Regions from separate parts of the Homo sapiens genome. Here all the other regions are linked to region 1. The links are contacts of gene promoters, found by promoter capture Hi-C in blood cells and fetal thymus (Javierre and others, 2016). All regions are on one chromosome and are shown on one strand. The core of a region is centred on a gene start or on the middle of the fragment in contact, and the rest is flanking DNA. Distances in the headings are between cores, read along the strand shown. Region 1 holds the start of RAD18 (RAD18 E3 ubiquitin protein ligase). Region 2 overlaps ATG7 (autophagy related 7). Region 3 overlaps HRH1 (histamine receptor H1). Region 4 has its middle 3.8 kb from the start of TAMM41.

The links. Contacts are between HindIII fragments. The CHiCAGO score rates a contact against its expected background, and 5 or more counts as called.
Region 2: a fragment that was not itself captured here is called in contact with the fragment with the promoter of RAD18 in region 1 in 1 of 17 cell types (total B cells); the score reaches 5.5 in total B cells.
Region 3: a contact is called between a fragment that was not itself captured here and the fragment with the promoter of RAD18 in region 1, in 5 of 17 cell types (non-activated CD4 T cells, naive B cells, total CD4 T cells and 2 more). The highest score is 8.7, in non-activated CD4 T cells.
Region 4: a fragment that was not itself captured here is called in contact with the fragment with the promoter of RAD18 in region 1 in 1 of 17 cell types (total B cells); the score reaches 5.9 in total B cells.

The regions. Positions count from the first base shown.
Region 1 is chr3:8,962,017-8,965,323 of GRCh38, forward strand. RAD18 (RAD18 E3 ubiquitin protein ligase) reads right to left here and starts at 1,456. Exons shown (of 13, transcript NM_020165.4): 1 at 1,319-1,456. The coding sequence starts at 1,369. RefSeq lists an enhancer at 1,304-1,473. The HindIII fragment of the contact is 5,728 bases long and covers 996-3,307 here.
Region 2 is chr3:11,282,879-11,286,093 of GRCh38, forward strand. All of the region lies in intron 3 of ATG7 (autophagy related 7), which reads left to right. Among named protein-coding and RNA genes, the nearest start is that of ATG7, 12 kb to the left of the region's middle. The HindIII fragment of the contact is 7,946 bases long and covers 1-3,215 here.
Region 3 is chr3:11,262,201-11,265,275 of GRCh38, forward strand. It overlaps HRH1 (histamine receptor H1), which reads left to right. Exons shown (of 2, transcript NM_001098212.2): 2 at 1-1,357. Among named protein-coding and RNA genes, the nearest start is that of ATG7, 8.7 kb to the right of the region's middle. The HindIII fragment of the contact is 2,532 bases long and covers 255-2,786 here.
Region 4 is chr3:11,849,006-11,852,327 of GRCh38, forward strand. No RefSeq gene overlaps it. Among named protein-coding and RNA genes, the nearest start is that of TAMM41, 3.8 kb to the left of the region's middle. The HindIII fragment of the contact is 1,052 bases long and covers 1,491-2,542 here.

The DNA of each region.
Region 1 (3,307 bases), core at 206-2,705:
GCTTACTACATTCCAGATACTTTCAATCAAGCAGCAAATAATATTTGAGCACCCACTTGGTGTCAGGCACTGCAGTAAGCACAGTGAATACACAGCAGAATCTGTGCCCACATACATCAACTAATTTATTTAATCAATCCTATGAACTGTTATTTTTGTCTCTAATTTATAGTTGAAGAAATTCAGGCTCAGAGAGGTTAAGTTACTAACCGAAGGTCATACAGTCAAGAGGCAGACAGGAGATTTCACCCAGGACCACTGGAACTCAAATCTGTGCTCTTCTCCACTGCATCCTGGTGCCAAGCCCACAACTCCAAAACTACAGCTTTCCTGGATCATTTCACAATGTCAGCTTCTCATCATGCAGATATCTCAAGTCCCCAAGCACTCTAGACGTCACTGATGACAGCAGGAAGAACAAGGCCTTCTACTTACTTTAGCCTTCACTTAATTCTAAAGTCAAATTTATGAGTCAGTGGGACAGGTATTATAATCCCCAAGTCTACAAAACTGAGGGAGAAGAAGGCTATCTTAGCCACTGTGAGAAACGGAAATAATCACAGAGCAAGAAGAAACACCAAGCAACTGATCTTTATCCAGCACAGCAAAGTGCATCTGCTCTTGAGCAAATCCAGGGCCCACCACTACTGTAAATGGAAACTGGTATGCCTTGCCAAAACAGAAAGTGGCCACAAAAATAAATGTTATTTAAGTGAAATAATCAGACGCAATGCAAGATCAGCGCTGAGCCTGAGTCCTGATCTCTGTTTAAGAGACATGAGCAATTGTTAGAGAAGAGTGAAGGTGTGTTAGAGAGGAGTTGGGGCAGTATGTCAGAACAAACGAGCACTACGTTTATTGAGAATAATCAGAAGAAATGAAAGAGCCTGTAAAGGAGACTACCTGCTTGGCTACGTGATTACATACATGTTATCTGATAAAGTGTCCACCCAAAATCATGTCCGGTGTCACTGTTTAGTGCTTGACACAAAGTAAGCTTTCAGTAAAGAACAGCTGTCGATGTCATTGTTTGGAATAACTGTTTTTCTCCATGTTATTGTTGGGATTGGATCGCAGAATAGCTGGTGCCATAAGACTGCCAACCTCAGCTCACCAGGCTTGTCCTTGTCACTTATCAGAGGAGTAAACTGAGACCCAGAGCCACGCGGTCGGCTAGTGGCAGGGCAGAGCCGGATACCCGGGCCCAGTGCGACGCTCGCGCCTCATCCTTTCTCCTTAAGGCGAGGACATCCTCCTCAAAGGGAGGGACCTCCCCCCGCAGACACCCGGGAGCTCCCAAACTCCCCGAAGCACTCACCTTCATGACTGCCAGGCCCGGAGGCCACCGAGACTCGGCCAGGGAGTCCATGGTCGCTCCCGAGGATGCTGGGGGTCAGCCACCCACTAGCCTCCGGCGCTCCAACACCACTCGAAATTCCCCGCGCTACCGCATTACGTCAGCAGCCCGCGACGCGCCAGAGGCGGGCGCGGAGCCTGCCGGAAGTTGTAGTAGTATGTGGGCGGGGCGCCGCTTAAGGGCTTGTACTGCGCATGCGCCAGGCTTCTGCCGCACTTACCTTGAAGAAAGTGAATGGTTAAAAAGCGTAGAGCCAGTTGAATATTAAGAAAAGATAGCCAGGAATCAAACCAAATCCAGACCTCACCAGATCTGTCAAGGTCCAGGCTCATGACCCCCCTCCGGGTCGCCCACCCTAATCGCAGTGACTATCCGTCCTTGCTCTGAACAGAAGTTTTTATATCCATTACTTTATGTCTCCCGTATCACAACACTGGGAGGTAGATGTTATCATTGTCAGTTTACACAAGAGAAGCCTACGCCCGAAAAAGTGGATAGAGTTTCGAGTCAGATTCCAAACAGGACCTCTGGGCTTTAAATGGGAGCTGTTGCTTTTATTCATATTAAAATTTTAATGCACGGTTTTTCTTTTTCTTCGGAGAGAAGCACCATTAACTTTGGCATATAGCCTTCTAGATATTTCCTATGCAGATTGACGAAGATTCTTTGCTTGAGCAAACTTTAGTCAGGCTCCTGAACCTTCTCCTAGGCCAATCTGTGTACTTCCTGTAAAAATCCAGTTTTAGCAAAAAACCCTGCTAAATCAAGTTACCAAGAATCCCCACCTTTGATATGTGATCACTCTTGATATCTGATGTGTTCCTCATCCTCCACCATCCCCCAGTTGATGTCTGATCACCCTGGCCTCTTCAGCAAGAATCTACTGTTACCTCTGATGTTTCCTCTTAGTAATTTTTCATGCACTGCTCCCCACCCTGCTTCCTGGCTATAAATTTCCATTTGCCCATGTTGTATTCAGAGTTGAGCCCAGTTTTCACCAATTGCAAGACACAGTTCCAGTGGTCTCTATACCTACTTGAATTGTCCTGATTAAGTCTTCCTTATTGTGCTTTAACAAGTATCATTGAACAATTTTTTTCTTAAACGAGATATAAATATAGATACTTTTTTTCATACATGTTATATTAAATGCATGAGGAATGGAGGTTTACGGTGTCCACCCCCGCCCCCCACTTTGTATCAGCCAATCATAGAACGGCATGCAAATGAACGCAAATGAATGCCAGGCTGAGCTGGAAAATGTCGGATAGTTCTGGATGTGGAGGAAGTGGGGTCTTGGAGAGACAAAGGAAAAGCATTTAAGACCAGGTCCGTGGCCTGAGTGAACCAGTAATTGTTTTTTTCACACTACTAGTTGGACAAGGTAATTAGGTTTAAGGTGACAAATGGCTGGGAAGGTGAGAGAGGAAGAGAGAGGAGATGAGAAAAAAGAGAAAGAATGGGTAAGGAGAAAGGGAGAGAGAGAAAAGACAGGGACAGGAATGTACTTTTTGCATTCAACCATGGAGACAGATTTGGAAGGAGGCAGTACTTGTTAGTCCTGGGGCCAAAATACATTTCCCTATCTATGGAGAGCCTCCAGGACAGGATGCGGTGCCATTCATCTCTGAGTGTCTGCCAATAGCTGGTGGGTGAGGCTGAATGAATGGATGAATCACCGACTAAGCCCACATTCCCATAAATCTTTTCCTCCCAGGCTGAGCATTTCTCTTCCTGCCATCTTCAGCAGCACCAGGGTGATAGATCCCATCAAGCCCACCTCTAGGCCCAGGAAGGAAAGTTCAAGAACAAGCGCACTTTGAGCTCAGGAAAAGGCGTTTGTCTTGGGTGTTTATCTAACCCTGGGAGCCATTCTCCTCTTAACAAGCTGCTGTTTGTATGGACTTTCTCCTTCTGTTAGATCAATAAAGAGATTGTACTTCCTTATTC
Region 2 (3,215 bases), core at 3-2,502, 2.3 Mb after region 1:
TTTACACATCAGCAGCTAAGAACATATGCTGTTTGTCAGCGGGACTTGGTCATGTGGTTTGGTGCTTATTTTAATGACTGCCAGAGCTTGCAGCCCTGCAGCTGGGAAAATGAGAATAGAAGCCTGCTCTGTGTGCTCCATTTTGGCCCAGAGAAGGCACTTCAGGGCCAAATTGCAGTTATTCTGGCACTTCTGCTAAGTGAATGGCCCCACATGGGCTCAGAGAAATCGGACACTGAGTGCTCGCTGCCCTTTAGAACTTGTTCTTTTGGACTTCTCGATGACCTGTAGTGGGAGACTGACCATTTCCTTTTAATTAAGCCTCTGTTGTGCTTGCAGAGCTCTTTTGAGGGAGGTAGGCTTTAAATGAGGCATGTTTTAGGCAGAGGAAATTTTCATAGTGAGCATGGGGAAGGGGAACCACATTAGTCAGGCATTGTTGGCTAATATGGGGCAGTGACAAGAAAAACTACCAGCAGCTACCATTTATTGACTGCTTGCTGTATGCCAGGCACTGTAGCAAGCACCTCACAAACATTTAGCCCTCCCAGCAAGTTCTAGAGTAGTTATACCTGTCCTTATCTTACACCTGAGTAAATCCAGGTGCAGGGGGGTGAAGGAACCTGCCCTAACCTGCCCTAGGCTTCTCAGCCAATAGGAGGTGGAGGTGGAATCCACACTCGGGTTCATCTGTATAAAGACCTGATTCCTGACTGCATTACATTACCTCTCCTTTTAGCATCCTTTCCCTGAACCATTAAAAACTCTCCTGCTTGTGGTGGACATGGTGGCTCACGCCTAGTAATCCTAGCACTTTGGGAGGCCAAGGCAGGTGGATCACCTGGGGTCAGGAGTTTGAGACCAGCCTGGCCAACAAAGCAAAACCCTACTAAAAATACAAATATTAGCTGGGCATGGTGGCGCATGCCTGTAATCCCAGCTATGTGGGAGGCCAAGGCAGGAGAATCGCTTGAACCCGGTAGACGGAGGTTGCAGTGAGCCGAGATCACGCCATTGCACTCCAGCCTGGACGACAGAACGAGACTCTGTCTCAAAGAAAAACAAACCAAAAAAACTCCCCTGCTCTCCTAAAGCAAACAGACAAAAAACTAAAACACACAGAAAAATCAGAGTGTGATAATTTTTAGCATTGTCAGGCTGGTTTATGGAAACTAGAGGCCTGTGTGTCTAGCTTCCCCTAAAGACAGGTTCTTTTTGTTTTTGTTTTTTTCTCTCCCTCTGTTTTTTATTTTCTACAATTACTTCTTCACTTTAAAGTGAATTACTTCTTCATTTAAAAAATCCTGTATTTCTTCATTAAAAAATATCCTACACTTCTTCATTTTAAAAAATCCTATACTGGCTTGATTATTTGCTGTGTCCAATCCTAGAGGGAGAATGGTTGGGCGGTCTCACTCCAGGAAGCACTCCTGCTTCAATTAATTCTATAAGCAGCCAAGCCAAAATAATTCCATCCTTAGCTTCTTTAGTCACAAAATGCCAGAAAACTTTATGGAAATGATTTCTCATTTAGGCTACTTATTTAGAGTAATGAATTGCTTTTTACCAAAGCTAAATTTAAGTAGGTCATCTGTTAACTGTTGGATGAATAAATGAAGGTTCTCTTCGTAGGACTGGTATGGTTTAAAGATAGGGGTTTTGTTCTACTTTTTTATTTTATTTTATTTTTTGAGACGGGGTCTTGCTCTGTTGCCCAGGCTGGAATACAGTGGTGCAGTCATGGCTCACTGCAGCTTGGATTGCCTGGGCTCAGGCGATCCTCCTGTCTCAGCCTCCTGAGTAGTCGGGACCACAGGCGTGCACCACCACTCCATAATAATTTTTTAAAATTATTTGTGGAGATGATATCTTACTATGTTGCCTAGAGTGGTCTTGTCTGGGCTCAAGTGATCATCCTGCTTTGGCCTCCCAAAGTGCTAGGATTACAAGTGTGAGCCACTGTGCCTGGCCTTTTTTTTTTTTTTTGAGACGGAGTCTTGCTCTGTCGCCCAGGCTGGAGTGCAGGTGCGCAATCTTGGCTCACTGCAAGCTCCGCCTCCCGGGTTCACGCCATTCTCCTGCCTCAGCCTCCCAAGTAGTTGGGACTATAGGCGCCCGCCACCATGCCCAGCTAATTTTTTTTTTGTATTTTCAGTAGAGACGGGGTTTCACCGTGTTAGCCAGGATGGTCTTGATCTCCTGACCTCATGATTTGCCCACCTCGGCCTCCCAGAGTGCTAGGATTACAGGTGTGAGCCACCTTTTTTTTTTTTTTTTTTTTAAAAGCCCGGCCTTTTTTTTTTTTTTAAATTCCTTCCTGTGACAGATTCTCACCCTGTCACGCAGGCTGGAGTTCAGTGGCACAATCACGGCTCACTGCAGACTCGACCTCCTGGGTTCAAGTGATCCTCCCACCTCCCACCTCAGCCTCCCAAGTAGCTGGGACTACAGGTGCCTGGCAATTTTTTTTTATTTTTTGTAGAGATGGGGGCCCACCGTGTTGCCCAGGCTGGTCTTGAACTCCTGGGCTCAAGCAGTCCTCCTTCAGCCTCCCAAAGTGTGGGGATTACAGGTGTGAGCCACTGCACCCAGCCCTATTTTACTTCTTTATTCATGGATAACATACATAAAGTGCACTGATAGCAAATGTTTAGCTTGTGGCTTTTTACATAGGTATATGCCTTGTAACCACCACCCAGCTCAAGATACAGAATATTTCCATCTCCCCAGGAGCCTTCCTCGTGGCCTTCTCAAGTCAGTAGCTCCACCTCACCCTGTAATCACCATTCTAACTTCTGTCAGGTTGATTGGTTTTGCCTGTTGAACAACGTATAAAGCTGTGTGTGACACACAGCTTTTATCTTAATAGTAAGATAAAATTATTCTTACTATTTTATTTTGGAACAGTTTCAAACTTACAGAAATTCTACAAGAATAAGACAGATACCTTCTATTTATCCATCTCCCAGAGACTCCCATTCAGTTTTTGTCCCAATAATGTCCTTTTATAGTGGAGCATCATCCCAGGATCACACGTGGTCCCCAGCTGTCACGTCTTTGTGGTCTCTTTCAGTCTGGGACAGCTCCTTGTCTCCCTTTGACTTTTAAGACCATGGCACTTCTGAAGACTATAATCCTGGTCATTTTGTAGAATGTTTTTCAACTTGGGTTTATCTGATGTTTCCTCCCATGAGATCCAGGTTGTGTATTTTCAT
Region 3 (3,075 bases), core at 271-2,770, 2.3 Mb after region 1:
TACAAGCTGATGTTTTGTATTTTGTGTTCCTCTTTGCATGATCTGTCAAAGTGAGATATTTTTACCTGCCTAAAATATGATGTTTAAAAGCATACTCTATGTGATTTATTTATTTCTACCTTTCTGAGTCTCTTGGACTAAGAAGATGTTTTGAAATGTACCATCAAATGTTAACAGAGTTTGATATGGGCTTTCTCTTTGGTTTCTCATCACATTTGTAAATGTCTTTTCAAAAGGATTTACTTTTTGTAAAAAGCTTCATTCTCACTCTGCTTTGCATCCCCCAAACTTCTTGTTCAAAACGGGGGGAGTTTAGGAGACTTTAATCCCGGTTTCAGAAGCTGCAGCTGGTCTGTTTCCAGGTCAGAAACCATTGTTCAGAAGACCTCCCTGTGAGAGAGTTGCTCCTCAGGGTCCCTCAGGACCAAAGAACACTCGAAAAGAGCACTTCACACAGACAAGTGGCTAAGTGTCCATTATTTACCTTGAACAATCAAGGCAACTAGTGGAGAGAACTGATTGTGAGCTCTGCCTCTGGGTCAGAGAGACCTGGATTTGAGTCTGACAAGAACAAGAAATGGTCAATAAATATAAATTACCAGCGTCTAAGGAACAAGGTCTATGCATTATTGTATACAGTGTCTCTAGTGCTTGTATAGTGTCTGGTATACAGAGGGCACTCCTATGCATTTTTAAAACATGCTGAGCACATACCATGTGCCAGGCTTTGTGTTTTATCTAATGTTATCTAATGGTATTGGTGCCATTATGTAATGTTGCCTTTACAACAACCTCATGAGGGAGATTTCCATCTTTACAAATAGGCAAACTGAGGCCCAGAGAGATTGAGGAACTGCTCCGAGGTCTGATTCTGGAATGTGCTTCCTTTCCACTTTATCAATCTGCTCTTCGTACTCCTGTCTGAACGATGGAAATTAATTTTTGAATGTATAAAAGACAACAGACTATGATACAGAAATGTCAGCCCCAGCCCACTAAGAAAGCCCCAGCCCATCAGTGGCTAATGGCTTTAATAAATTGGTCATTTGGCTACTTGGCTTGTGGACAATCTCTGACCTCTTTTGAAGATGGGCACTGCATGGACTTCCAGGAGGTGGATTTAATAGTCTTAACTCAGCATGAAAAAGATGCTGGGATGCTCCTGGCTATTTATGCACCCTAAGTGCCATAGAGACATGCTGTTGGCAAGGCATGGTGGCTCATGCCTGTAATCCCAGCACACTGGGAGGCTGACGCGGGCAGATGGCTGGAGTCCAGGAGTTCGAGACAAGCCTGGGCACCATGGTGAAATCCTGTCTCTACTAAAAATAAAAAATTAGCCAGGGGCTGTGACGCACACCTGCAGTCCCAACTACTTGGGGGGCTGAGGCAGGAGGATCACTTGAGCCCAGAAAGTTGAGGCTGCAGTGAACCAAGATTGGGCCACTGCACTCCAGCCTGGGTGACAGAGAGAGACTCTGTCTTAAAATGAAATGAAATGAAATGAAATATAAAATAAAATAAAATATAGAAACATGCTGTTAAAGATCTTATTTGCCAATATTTATCATTCCACAATTTGTCAGGCTTTCAAAGCCTAGCTTGACGTGACATATAATTCTCATTGTGGGGAGCATGTACTCTTCTCAACTCAGATGCAAGACAAATGATGAAGGTGGATTGACCTGAATCACTGTAGCCTTGAATAAGTGTCACAGGGCCTCATGACCCTGCTGTGTCTGAGAACATTCTCTGCCTCTTTAAGTCTCCTGGGTCTGCATCTTTCTTAATGCTCCATGGTCTTGGAGCCCCAATGGTCTGCCTATCCCATTCCAGGCAGCAGAGGCAGGTCTTCTTCCTTAGCCTCACCCTATCTTCCTGCTAACAAGGAAGCCTCATTTGTCGTCTGAGCAATCATTAGCTCTGGTCCCCATATCTATTTTGGATTCCCAGACCTTATCTGTTAATTAACAAATATTTTTCCAGCACTTCTTATGTCTGGCCTGAGCCAGAAAGACATGATTTCAACCCTGTGGAGCTACTTCAGGTTTGCAAGTGACAGAAATCAACTTTGTGAATAGTTACTAGAGTATCTTAAGTCTGTTTTGTGCTCCTATAACAGAATATCACAGACTGGGTAATTTATAATGAATAGAAATTTATTGGCTCACAGTTCTGGAGGCTGGTAAGTCTAATATCAATGTGCTGGCATCTGGTGAGGACCTTCCTGATGCATCATGACATGATGGAAGAGCAAAGAGAGGGCAAGAGAGAGCAAAAGGGAGCAATCCCACTCCTGTAATAAAGAACTCACTCCCATGATAACAGCATTAGTGCATTCATGAGAGTGGAAACCCATGACCTAAACACTTCTTAAAGATCCCACTTCCCAATATGATCACAATGGCAATTAAATTTTAACATGAGTTTTGGAGAGGACAAATGTTCAAGCCACATAGCATGGCATGCTTTGTGGAATCTAGTGATACTTTGGATGACTTTGCCTTGAGGAGGGCTTGAGACAAGTCAGCCATAGGAATCTCAAGCTAAGAATTCAAGGAAACTCCCTCTCTAGGATACTGCCAATGATCTACATAAACTAATCCTATTCCCACTCTATGAACATCAGTTCAAAAGTCCCAAACTCAGGATAAAGAATCGTCCTGTGTCCACTTTACTCCAGTCAACTCTGGAGGGGGTGGAGGCTGGGGTGGCACAGGTGGTACAAACATAGCTGGAGAATCAGCAGTTCCCAGAGAAGCAAGGATTACTGTGAGTTCGGCAGAAGCTTTAAAAGGTGTTCATTATAAAATCACAAAACCCAGCAGTAGAGTCAAACTTATAAAGAACTAACTTTAACTTAGGCTCATATATGCTCAATAGAGTAAAGCCTAGAGGTGGTGGGTATAAGGCATGCCTTCATATAAGAGGTGACATCCCTACTGTTTGTTTTTAAAATCAGCCAGGTGCAGTGGCTCATGCTTGTAATCCCAGCACTTTGGGAGGCCGAAGAGGGGCAGATTACCTGAGGTCAGGAGTTTGAGACCAGCCTGGCCAACATGGTGAAACCCCATC
Region 4 (3,322 bases), core at 767-3,266, 2.9 Mb after region 1:
AGCAGTAGCCGCAGCAACAAGCAGGAGACCAGGGCAAGGGAGCGGAGAGAGGCCGTTTGTCTGCGGCCCCTGGTGTGGGCATGGTCACTTCCGTTCATTTTTACTACATATCGCCCTTGCCCAGGGTGCCGGAATCAGAGTGCACTCACCGTGGAATTACACTGAAGCCTCTCACCCAAAGACAGTGAATAAATCTCATTACCAGCCGGTTCCTTTTTTATTTCCTTCCTTCCCTTGGGGAAATAATTCAACGTCATTGGATTTTTCCTGTTTGCAAAAGTAATCCATGTTCATAAAAATGTAAACATTATGAAATACATACATCATGCCCCAGAAATAGCCACGGTAATCTTTGGCACATATTCCTTCCAATATTTTTCTATGAATATATTAACATTAAAAACAATTTTAAGTGGATTCCTAGGATAGATACTATTTTGCAATTTGCTTTTTTTGCACTTAGCGTATCAGGGACAATGTTCTGTGTCAGAATATATAGATTTCCCTCATTCCATGTATTAGTAGCAAATTATTCTAAGATATGGATATGCCATAATTTTGTTTAAAATTTTTTGTTTAAAAGAAAGTGTTTAAACATTTTCTTTCTCTTTCTTTCTTTCTTCTTTTCTTTTGTTTCTTTCTTTTTTTTTTTTTTTTTTTGAGAGCGAGTCTTGCTCTGTCACCCAGGCTGGAGTGCAGTGGCACAATCTAGGCTCCCTGCAACCTCCACCATCCGGGTTGAAGTGATTCTCCTGCCTCAGCCTCCTGAGTAGCTGGGATTACAGGTGCCCGCCACCACATCTGGCTAAGTTTTGTATTTTTCGTAGAGACAGGGGTTTCACTATGTTGGCCAGGCTGGTCTCGAACTCCTGACCTCAAGTGATCCACCCGCCTCGGCCTCCCAAAGTGCTGGGGTTACAGGCATCCTGGCCTGTTTAAACATTTTATTGTTGATGGATGTAGGTTATTTCTAGTTTTCACACCTGCAAACAATGCTATCATGAGCATCCTTGTACATTTTATGTGCATGAACAAGTATTGCTATAAGACAGATTCCTAGAAGGGGAATTGCTGGGTCAGAGTGTCAGCACGCTGCTAAATTCCCCTCCAAAAGATGGTGCCAATTCACACACCCACCAGCAGAGTTCAGCCCTTGATAGAAATAAAGATGCTGCAATGTTTCTCCATTTGTCTCCCTTACAGGCGTTCACACCCAATTATCAGCAATTTTCATGTTCACAAACACTTTTCTTCCTGCAATGCAAAACCACCAGCTGGAAGGTTCCATCACATTCCTGTGTGCATTTTGCCTTTCCCCAGAAAGAGGCAGAAGCAACGTAGCCACGAACACATTTGTATTCTTCAGCAGAAATCTCCCTGCTCCTGGCCCTTCATCCACCCACTCTCTTTTAAATTACCATGGCTTGTGAAATTAGAGGCTATTAGGAAGACCCAGTGTTCTATATAATCGCTTTAGGGTTCTGTTGGAAAGCTTATACCAATGAAATAAACATGTTAGAGAGCCACTTACAAATATAGATAAATGCCTGGTGACTCGAGTGAATATTGGGCCTCATTCTTCTGATTTATCTAGCAGTTGTCTTTGTATTCCTTAATAATGACCTTGTCAGGCTTTCACTAGGAGAAGGTTCATCGAATCCATGTAATCCATTTTTTTTAAAGCCCTGTAAAAAAACATCTATGGCTTTAATGCTTTTTTTTTTTTTTTCTAATCAGTGTTTAAGTACAGGAGAGAAAAATGTTTGGGGAAGAATAAAAATCCAGGCTCAGTGGTTCTTACAATTAGCCACATGTTCAATTGGTCTGCTGATGGAGGGGAAGGAGAGGGGTCTTGATCTCCATCTTGTCAGAGGTGGGTCACCCTGTCCCATTTGTCCATTCTCGGCTGATTGATGGTTAGAACTGGGACAGACTGGGAGCATTTTTTCGTTTTTTCTTTTCTTTTCTTTCTTTTCTTTTCTTTTTTTCTTTTCTTTTCTTTTTTTTTTTTTTTTTTTTTTGAGACAGGGTTTCACTCTGTCACCCAGGCTGGAGTGCAGTGGCACGATCTCGGCTCACTGTAACCTCTGCCTCCCAGGCTCGAGTGATCCTCCCACCTCAGCCTCCTGAGTAGCTGGGATTACAGGCATGTACTACCACACCAGGCTAATTTTTGTATTTTTGTAGAGAATGGGGTTTCACCATGTTGTCCAGGCTGGTCTTGAACCCTTGAGCTCGAACAATCCACCCACCTAGGCCTCCCAAAGTGCTGGAATTACAGGCGTGAGCCACTATGCCCAGCCAACTGAGAGCATCTTAATACATCTTTAGTGTCTGATCAGGGGCTTGAAGGTACCACCTGGGTTGGAATCCAGGCCCCAGGATTTAATAGCTGTGTGACCTTGGACAAGAAGACTTAGCCTCTCTGTGCTTTCCTTTCCTCATCTGCAGCCTGGGGAGAGTAATGACACCTCACTCACAGGGTTGTTGTGACAGCAAATGAAACAGTATCTAGAAAGTACATAGAATAGTGCCTGGAGTAAGCTTTCAATAAACGGAGGACATCCTCCTGAATTCTTAAGAGACAATGTACAAAAGGAATTAAGAAGCATAATTATACCTACATCTTTATGGCGTTTAGCATTTTACACAAAGCACTTTGCAGACATGATTTTATTTAGCTCTTAAAACAAATCCTGGGAAATTAGTAGCTACTATTTCAGTTTTACAGATGGATAAACTGAAGCTTAGAAAAAAGAATTGATGTGCCTGAAGTCACAGGGCTAATGGCAGCTGCTAATACAGCCTCCAAGTCCAATCCCTTTCCTCTTGCACGAGAAAAATAACACGGGGTGTTCATTTCACCAAGGGACCCATTCATTCATTGATTCATTCTCCCATTGAAACCTTCCTCATCCTTTAGTCCCAGCTCAGCTATCAAAGTGTTCTGTTCTCTGTGCCTTCCTAACCCTTTGCTTTTAGCTCTCTAGCTCTTGTCTTAAATATCAGATATGTCCATCAAGTACAATTATAAAAGGCTTAGGGGCCCTTTGAGGTCAGGAACCATATCTTATTAATCTTTCTGTCCTTTAGTGCCTAGTACAGTGCCTGAAACAAAATTTCTGCATTTGCAAATGTTATAGTCTGGTGGCAAAAAATTCACATGCATGCAAAAAAAAATACACTATGGAGAGTATAAACCAGATCTATACCACCGCAATGGTAAGACAGCAGGGGTTACTTTTTCTTCAGGGTTTCTGGGAAAGCTTCTTAGAGGGATGACATTTGGATTAGACCTTGGAAGATGACCAGCAGTTCACCA